Regions from separate parts of the Homo sapiens genome. Here region 1 is linked to region 2. The links are contacts of gene promoters, found by promoter capture Hi-C in human tissues and cell types (Jung and others, 2019). All regions are on one chromosome and are shown on one strand. Each heading gives the region's core, a stretch centred on a gene start or on the middle of the fragment in contact. The rest is flanking DNA. Distances are from core to core; before and after follow the strand shown.

Evidence for each region. The method cuts DNA at HindIII sites, captures the fragments that hold promoters and counts their contacts. A contact is called where the count stands out against the background at its distance.
Region 1: a contact is called between a fragment that was not itself captured here and the fragment with the promoter of CHRM2 in region 2, in 1 of the 25 tissues and cell types used here (pancreas).

What each region holds. Positions count from the first base shown.
Region 1 is chr7:137,103,538-137,107,816 of GRCh38, forward strand. All of the region lies in intron 1 of LOC349160 (a long non-coding RNA gene), which reads right to left. Among named protein-coding and RNA genes, the nearest start is that of MIR490, 200 kb to the left of the region's middle. The HindIII fragment of the contact is 5,588 bases long and covers 1-4,279 here.
Region 2 is chr7:136,865,896-136,870,142 of GRCh38, forward strand. It overlaps CHRM2 (cholinergic receptor muscarinic 2), which reads left to right and starts at 2,757. Exons shown (of 4, transcript NM_001006630.2): 1 at 2,757-3,097; 2 at 3,366-3,523. RefSeq lists an enhancer at 3,436-4,198. The HindIII fragment of the contact is 6,446 bases long and covers 227-4,247 here.

The DNA.
Region 1 (4,279 bases), core at 1,538-4,037, 240 kb after region 2:
GAACCGTTCACTCCCCTGGAAAGAGGGCTGAAGCCAGGGAGCCAAGTGGTCTAGCTTAGCGGACCCCACCTCCACAGAGCCCAGCAAGCTAAGATACACTGGCTTGAAATTCTCGCTGCCAGCATAGCAGTTTGAAGTCGACCTGGGATGCTCAAGCTTGGTGGGGGGCGGTTAGTCACCATTACTGAGGCTTAACTAGGCAGTTTTCCCCTCACAGTGTAAACAAAGCCGCTGTAGCCAGGCTGCCTCTTTAGATTCCTCCTCTCTGGGTAGGGCATCTCTGAAAGAAAGGCAGCCACCCCAGTCAGGGGCTTATAGATAAAACTCCCATCTCCCTAGGACAGAGTACCTGGGGGAAGGGGCAGCTGTGTGCGCAGCTTCAGCAGAGTTAAATGTTCCTACCTGCCGGCTCTAAAGACAGCAGTGGATCTCCCAGCACAGTTCTCGAGCTCTGCTAAGAGACAGACTGCCTCCTCAAGTTAGCCCCTGACACCCATGCCTCCTGATTTGGAGACACCTCCCAGCAGGGGTCAACAGGCTCCTCATACAGGACAGCTCTGGCTGGCAACTGGCAAATGCCCCTCTGGGAAGAAGCTTCCAGAGGAAGGAAAAGGCAGCAATCTTTGCAGTTCTGCAGCCTCCGCTGGTGATACCCAGGCAAACAGGGTCTGGAGTGGACCTCCAGCGAACTCCAGCAGACCTGCAGTAGAGGGACTTGACTATTAGAAGGAAAACTAACAACAGAAAGGAATAGAATTAACATCAACGAAAAAGACGTCAACACAAAAACCCCATCTGAAGGTCATCAACATCAAAGACCAAAGGCAGATAAATCCACGAAGATGAGGAAAAATCAGTGAAAAACGGCTGAATATTCCAAAAACCAGAACACCTCTTCTCCAAAGGATCACAACTCCTCACCAGCAAGGGAACAAAACTGGATAGAGAATGAGTTTGACGAACTGGCAGAAGTAGGCTTCAGAAGGCAGGTAATAACAAAGTCCTCCAAGCTAAAGGAGCATGTTCTAACCCAATGCAAGGACGATAAGAACCTTGATAAAAGGTTAGAGGAATTGCTCACTAGAATAACCAATTTAGAGAAGAACATAAATGATCTGATGGAGCTGAAAAACACAGCATGAGAACTTGGTGAAGCATACACAAGCTGAATAGATCAAGTGGAAGAAATGATATCAGAGACTGAAGACCAACTTAATGAAATAAAGTGTGACAAAATCAGAGAAAAAAAGAATGAAAAGGAACAAACAAAGCCTCCAAGAAATATGGAACTATGTGAAAAGACCAAACCTACATTTGATTGGTGTACCAGAAAGTGATGAGGAGAATGGAACCAAGTTGAAAACACTCTTCAAGATATCATCCAGAACTTCCCCGACCTAGGAAGACAGGCCAACATTCAAATTCAAGACATACAGAGAACACCACAAAGATAATCCTCGAGAAGAGCAACCCCAAGACACATAATCGTTGGATTCACCAAGGTTGAAATGAAAGAAAAAATGTTAAGGACAGCCAGAGAGAAAGGTCGGGTTACCCACAAAGGGAAGCCCATCAGACTAACAATGGATCTCTCTGCAGAAACCTTACAAGCCAGAAGGGAGTGGGGGCCAATATTCAACATTTTTAAAGAATTTTCAACCCAAAATTTCATATCCAGCCAAACTAAGCTTCACCCTAACATCACAATTAGAAAAACTAGAGAAGCAAGAGCAAACATATTTAAAAGTTAGAAGAAGACAAGAAATAACTAAATTCAGAGCAGAACTGAAGGAGAGAAGACATGAAAAACCCTTCAAAAAATCAATGAATCCAGGAGCTGGATTGTTGAAACGATTAACAAAATAGATAGACTGCTAGCCAGACTACTAAAGAAGAAAAGAGAGAAGAAACAAATAGACACAATAAAAATGATAAAGGGGAGATCACCACTGATCCCACAGAAATAAAAACTAACATCTGAGAATACTATAAACACCTTAACGCAAATAAACCAGAGCATCTAGAAGAAATGGATAAATTCCTGGACATATACACCCTCCCAAGACTAAATCAGGAAGAAGTCGAATCCCTGAATAGACCAATAACAAGGTCTGAAATTGAGGCAGTAATTAATAGCCTACCAACCAAACAACAACAACAACAAAAAAAAGCCCAGGAAGAGATGGCTTCACAGCCGAATTCTACCAGAGGTACAAAGAGGAGCTGGTACCATTCCTCCTGAAACTATTGCAAACAACAGGAAAAGAGGTACTCCTCTCTAACTCATTTTATAAAGCCAGCATCATCCTGAAACCAAAACCTGGAAGAGACACATCAAAAAAACAAAATTTCAGGCCAATATCCCTGATGAACATCGACGCAAAAATCCTCAGTAAAATACTGGCAAACCAAATCCAGCAGCACATCAAAAAGCTTATCCACCACAACCAAGTTGGCTTCATCTCTGGGATGCAAGGCTGGTTCAACATACACAAATCAATAAACGTAATCCATCACATAAACAGAACCAATGACAATTATCTCAATAGATGCAGAAAAGGCCTTCAATAAAATTCAACACCCCTTCATGCTAACAACTCTCAATAAACTAGGTATTGATGGAATGTATCTCAAAATATTAAGAGCTATTTATGACAAACCCTCAGCCAATATCATACTGAATGGGCAAAATCTGGAAGCATTCCCTTTGAAAACCAGCACAAGACAAGGATGCCCTCCCTCACCACTCCTATTCAACATAGTATTGGATGTTCTGGCCAGGGCAATCAGGCAAGAGGAAGAAATAAAGGGTATTCAAATATAAAGAGAAGACGTCAAATTGTCTCTGTTTGCAGATGGCATGATTGTAAATTTAGAAAACCCCATTGCCTCAGCCCAAAATCTCCTGAAGTTGATAAGCAACTTCAGCAAAGTCTAAGGACACAAAATCAACATGCAAAAATCACAAGCATTCCTATACACCAATGATAGACAAACAGAGAGCCAAATCATGAGTGAACTCCCATTCACAATTGCTACAAAGAGATTCAAATACCTAGGAATACAACTTACAAGGGATGTGAAGGACCTCTTCAAGGAGAACTACAAACTACTTCTCAAGGAAATAAGAGAGGACACAAACAAATGGTAAAACATTCCATGCTCGTGGATAGGAAGAATCAATATCATGAAAATGGCCATACTGCCCAAAGTAATTTATAGATTCAATGCTATTCCCGTCAAGCTACCATTGACTTTCTTCATAGAATTTGAAAAAAACTACTTTAAATTTCATATGGAACCAAAAAAGAGCCCATATAGCCAAGACAATCCTAAGCAAAAAGAACAAAGCTGGAGGCATCACATTACCTGACCTTAAACTATACTACAAGGCTACAGTAACCAAAACAGCATGCTACTTGCACCAAAACAGACATATAGACCAACGGAACAGAACAGAGGCCCCAGAAATAACGCCACACATCTGCAACCATCTGATCTTTGACAAACCTGACAAATACAAGCAATGGGGAAAGGTTACCTATTTAATAAATGGTGTTGGGAAAACTGGCTAGCCATATGCAGAAAACTGAAACTGGAACCCTTCCTTACAACTTATACAAAAATTAACTCAAGATGTATTAAAGACTTAAATGTTAGACCTAAAACCATAAAAACCCTAGAAGAAAACCTAGGCAATACCATTCAGGACACAGGCATGGGCAAGGACTTCATGACTAAAATACCAAAAGCAAGGGCAACAAAAGCCAAAATTGACAAATGGGATCTAATTAAACTAAAGAGATTCTGCATAGCAAAAGAAACTATTATCAGAGTGAACAGGCAACCTACAGAATGGGAGGAAATTTTTGCCATCTACTGATCTGACAAAGGGCAAATATCCAGAATCTACAAGGAACTTAAATAAATTTACAAGAAAAAACAAACCACCCCATCAAGAAGTTGGTGAAGGACATGAACAGAAACTTCTCAAAAAAGTCATTTATGTGGCCAAGAAACTATGAAAAAAAGCTCATCATCACTGGTCATTAGAGAAATGCAAATCAAAACCACAATAAGATACCATCTCACTCCAGTTAAAATGGCAATCATTAAAAAGTCAGGAAACGACAGATGCTGGAGAGGATGTGGAGAAATAGGAACACTTTTACACTATTGCTGGGAGTGTAAATTAGTTCAACCATTGTGGAAGACAGTATGGCAATTCCTCAAGGATCTAGAACCAGAAATACCATTTGACCCAGCAATCCCATTACTG
Region 2 (4,247 bases), core at 1,507-4,006:
CTTGTTAATTATATGATGGTGATGAGCATTATGGTTTGCATTGTCAAGAATCACTCCTTAATACTCTGTTTCAGAGGTCACAGGTGTGACCCAAGAAACTGTATTTTTCAGTCTTGACCGACAATGTTATATTTATAGCAATTTGCTATGTGTCACATGCTCTTTTAAGAATTTCACATGAATTACTTCCATTATCCCTCCTACCAACCCCGACATGTATGCTATACCCATTTTATGGTTTAAGAAGCTGAGGCAAAGAAAAGTTAAACAACTTCCCTAAAATCACAGTGAATGGCAGAGTTACAAGTCTATATAAAGATGTGTTCTAAGTGATGACCTAGAAAAAGAAAATGGACATAATTGATGACCGTTGGCTAAAAATGATGCTTCCCTGTGCAACTCCTCTCCAAAAGGCCTTAAGTATACTGACTTCTATTAAACATAGCACTTCAGTCACACATAGACTCTGTTTTATTGAGGTTTAAGAAAAATATTCGTTTGCCTTCATTGGTTATTTATTTGGTTGCTCATTTTGGAATGTGCAGCTTTATTAGTAAAAGGGGGCTTAGTGTTCTTAATGATGTAAAGGAACAAAAAAGTAACAAATCACTGGGTTTTCCTGTCTATTGCTGGCCAGGGATCTATTTCTCCTCACTTTTTTGCTTTGATGGGTGTGTGTCTGTGTGTGTGTTCCAAAAGACTCAAGCAGCTTCATGGGTTTATGGAGGCTCAGTAGACAGAAATAATGGAGTAAAAAAGGAAAATGTGAATTCATTCTGAAAAGAGTGTCTAAGAGAGGAGAGATGACAAAATCAGATATTTAATGTAGTGGAACAAATGCTGGGAGAGGCTGAGAACAAGACTTAGCAGGGCTGTTTTGATTTTCTCACAGGTATCTTATAATCACCCAGTGATGGTGGGATGTAAGTATGGAGGTTGAAGGCAGAGACACAGTATTGTAATGCTGCATTTTAGGATGACTTCAATCAAGCAAAATCAACTTTGTGTCAAGTCCTGCTTGGTGATAGCTATGAGTTAACAAAAAGGGCAGAAACTTTCAGCTACAGCATTTCCATTTATCAATAAATTTACATTGCTATAAAATTAATCATTGGATTGTCAACTGTTACATAGATGTTTCAAATGAAGTGTCTTTTCTTGTCAATAGGAATAGAAGCTTATAAAAACACAGGGACAGTGGTTTTTGCTCTTGTGGATGGCCTTTAATACCTAGCAAAACCCTGGACGTCAAGAACTGAACTGAATTTAATTGACTATATTATATTATATCAATGTATCTTTAACTTGCTCTTTGTCTATCCCTGTGACCCAAAAAGTGATGTGTCCAATTCTGGGCTATTCAATTTAAGGTTTCCACTTCTTGCTCTTTATTTGATTGAAGTTGGATGAGAGAAAATAAAGCCTATGTAATATATAATATATTGATGTTATATTCACATACACATATGCTTTTACAAAAGCAAGTTTTGGCCTAAGCTACACTTTAGAATCCTATCATTGTACTTTTATCAAATGAGGTTAGTATCTAAAAATAATAGATACAATTATTGGCAGAAATTTCTCATTAAAATAAAGAAATAAACATCAAAGGCAGGTCTGAACACAGAAAGTTTGCATCCTAAATCTTTTTTCATGGAGATCACAAATTCCCTGAAGCATCAAACATATATATATTCTGGAGATATATATATATATATATATTTTTTTTTTTGAGAGAGATATATATATATATATTTTTGAGATATATATATATATTTTCTGGATATATATATATTTTCTGGATATATATATATTCTGGACATATATATATTCTGGATATATATATCCTGGACATATATATATATATTCTGGATATATATATCCTGGACATATATATATATATATATTCTGGATATATATATATATATTCTGGATATATATATCCTGGACATATATATATATATATATATATATATATATATATTCTGGATATATATATCCTGGACATATATATATATATATATTCTGGATATATATATATTCTGGATATATATATATATTCTGGATATATATATATATATTCTGGATATATATATATATATTCTGGATATATATATCTATATATTCTGGATATATATATCCTGGACATATATATATATATTCTAGATATATATATTCTGGATATACACATATTCTGAATATAGATATAGATACAGATATAGATATAGATATATTCTGTAGTCTACTGCCCATTAGCTGAAGAAAACATGGTCACTGGCTCATATTTAAAGTAAGAGAAAAAAATTACTTCTCCTTCGGATACATTTGTCAAAGCTCCAAAGAAATAAACAATCTGTGAATAGTTCAGCACAATTATATATTTACAAAGCATAGTGGATTTAGTCTAACATTTTCCCACCTGGAAAAACTGGGCTTAAGTATCTCCGACAAACAAAAAGCAATACTGCGTTCTTCCCAATATGCCATGTCACCTTTGTAGCACTCACACACTTGCAGGGAAGGGACTCGGGGTTGGGGGTGGTTCTGATGTAGAAATTGCAGATGGAGAGCTGGGCTCTGGGGATGGAAATGGAGAGAAGCGAAAAAGAGCCTGGAGAAACGGCTGTCATATTTGCTCAGAAGAACCGCCAAATCAGAGAGCACAGAAGATTTCATTGGAGGAGCGCCTTCAACAGCAACTAATCCTGTCATACTGAAAGAAAATTGTAAATGTTCTCTCCAGAAATTGTCCGCCCATTGCAGCTAATCGAACACACACGCACGAATACAGACACGCTCTCCTGCTGTACTAAAGGCGCCAGGGCGCAAAGACCTAGGGAGCGCGCGCGGGCACACACACACACACACACACACACACAGACACACACACACTCACACACTCCAGGCTGCGGGTTGGCCAGAGCCTGGAAATCGCAGATTTCACCAGGAAATCGCCGAGGTACCCGAATAGGTGTTGCCTCCCAAAACTAATTCCTACTTCCCCAAGCACTTTGGTGAAGAAATGAATCCAGCCCAGCTCGCCGAGGCATCCAGGTCTCCATTCTATTTTGGTCTCCAGGCTCTTCGTGAAAGCCAGGTTTGAAAGTCTTGTTTGCTTCTCCTTTAGTGGTTTGGCGTGGAGGGCGGGGGCAGCGTCAATTTAACTCCAGTCTAAACCACGAACAGGTCACAGACTAGCCAAGTGGCTGAGACGAGTGTGGGGTGCGTGACTCTGCCTGCGCGCGCGCCAGCCCCGCAGCTCTCGCCAGAGCCTTGGGGTCGGTTCTCTCCCGCCTCTCCCGCCTCTCCCGCCCCACCCCTACAGTGTCTCGGCATCAACTAATCTTTTCCTTTTCTTTTGCAAGATCAAGGGAGAAAGAGAACCGGCAGCTGGCCTCGGACTCTAAGCGGTGCGCAGCTCCAGCCCGAGCGGATCGGCCCTGAACCCACAAAGGACTCCTCGCTCCTTCAAGCCTCCACCACCTCGCAGCCGGGGAGGCAACTGGAGCGAAACCAGCGACAGGTAAGGGCCCCGCGCTGTGCAGCTCTCCGCTTACCCACTCCAAGGGCCCTGGCACCAGGGGGTCTCTCCCTTCATATCCCCCCAAGCCGGAGGCTCAGGGGTCGGGGCTTGGGGGAATTGGAGGGAGGTCCTCCCCACGTGCAGATTCTCAAACGGAAACTTTGGATCCTGGGGCTTGGAGGGTTGCGAGCAGTGATGGCGGGTCTGAAAGGAAGGGGCAAACGAGGCACAGCGCGAGGCGAGGTACCCCTACGATTCCGACGGTCACTGAGTCCAGCCGAATGTGGCGAAAGCAGCCTGGGAGCTGCGCTGTCCCGGCGTCGCTCCCTATTCCAGCCCCCCATTCCCTCTACTGTTGCTGACCCCCCTCCCGCCACCCACTCCAGATGCAGCCATGGACAAGACAAGGAGAGCTTCGTCCCTCCCGCCCCTCGGGTTCCTTCCTGCTGGGGTCTGACCGCGTCTTCTGTGCGTGTGGGATGGAGGCCCGGCTCGCTCGGGCTCCGAGCTGTCCCCCGGCTCCGCTTTCGGAGCAGCCCTTGGGCGCTGGAGAGGTTTCCCATTGCGGTCTCCAGGTCATGGCCAAGGAGGAGAAGCAATTAGAATGGGGGAAAGGGTCCCAAGACAAAGGAGAGGGAAGCATTCTGCAATCCCATCCTATTTGAGCCCCGCGCAGGAGCTGGACTGTCCGCCGTGGCTGGGGGACAAGGTCTCAGCCCGAAGC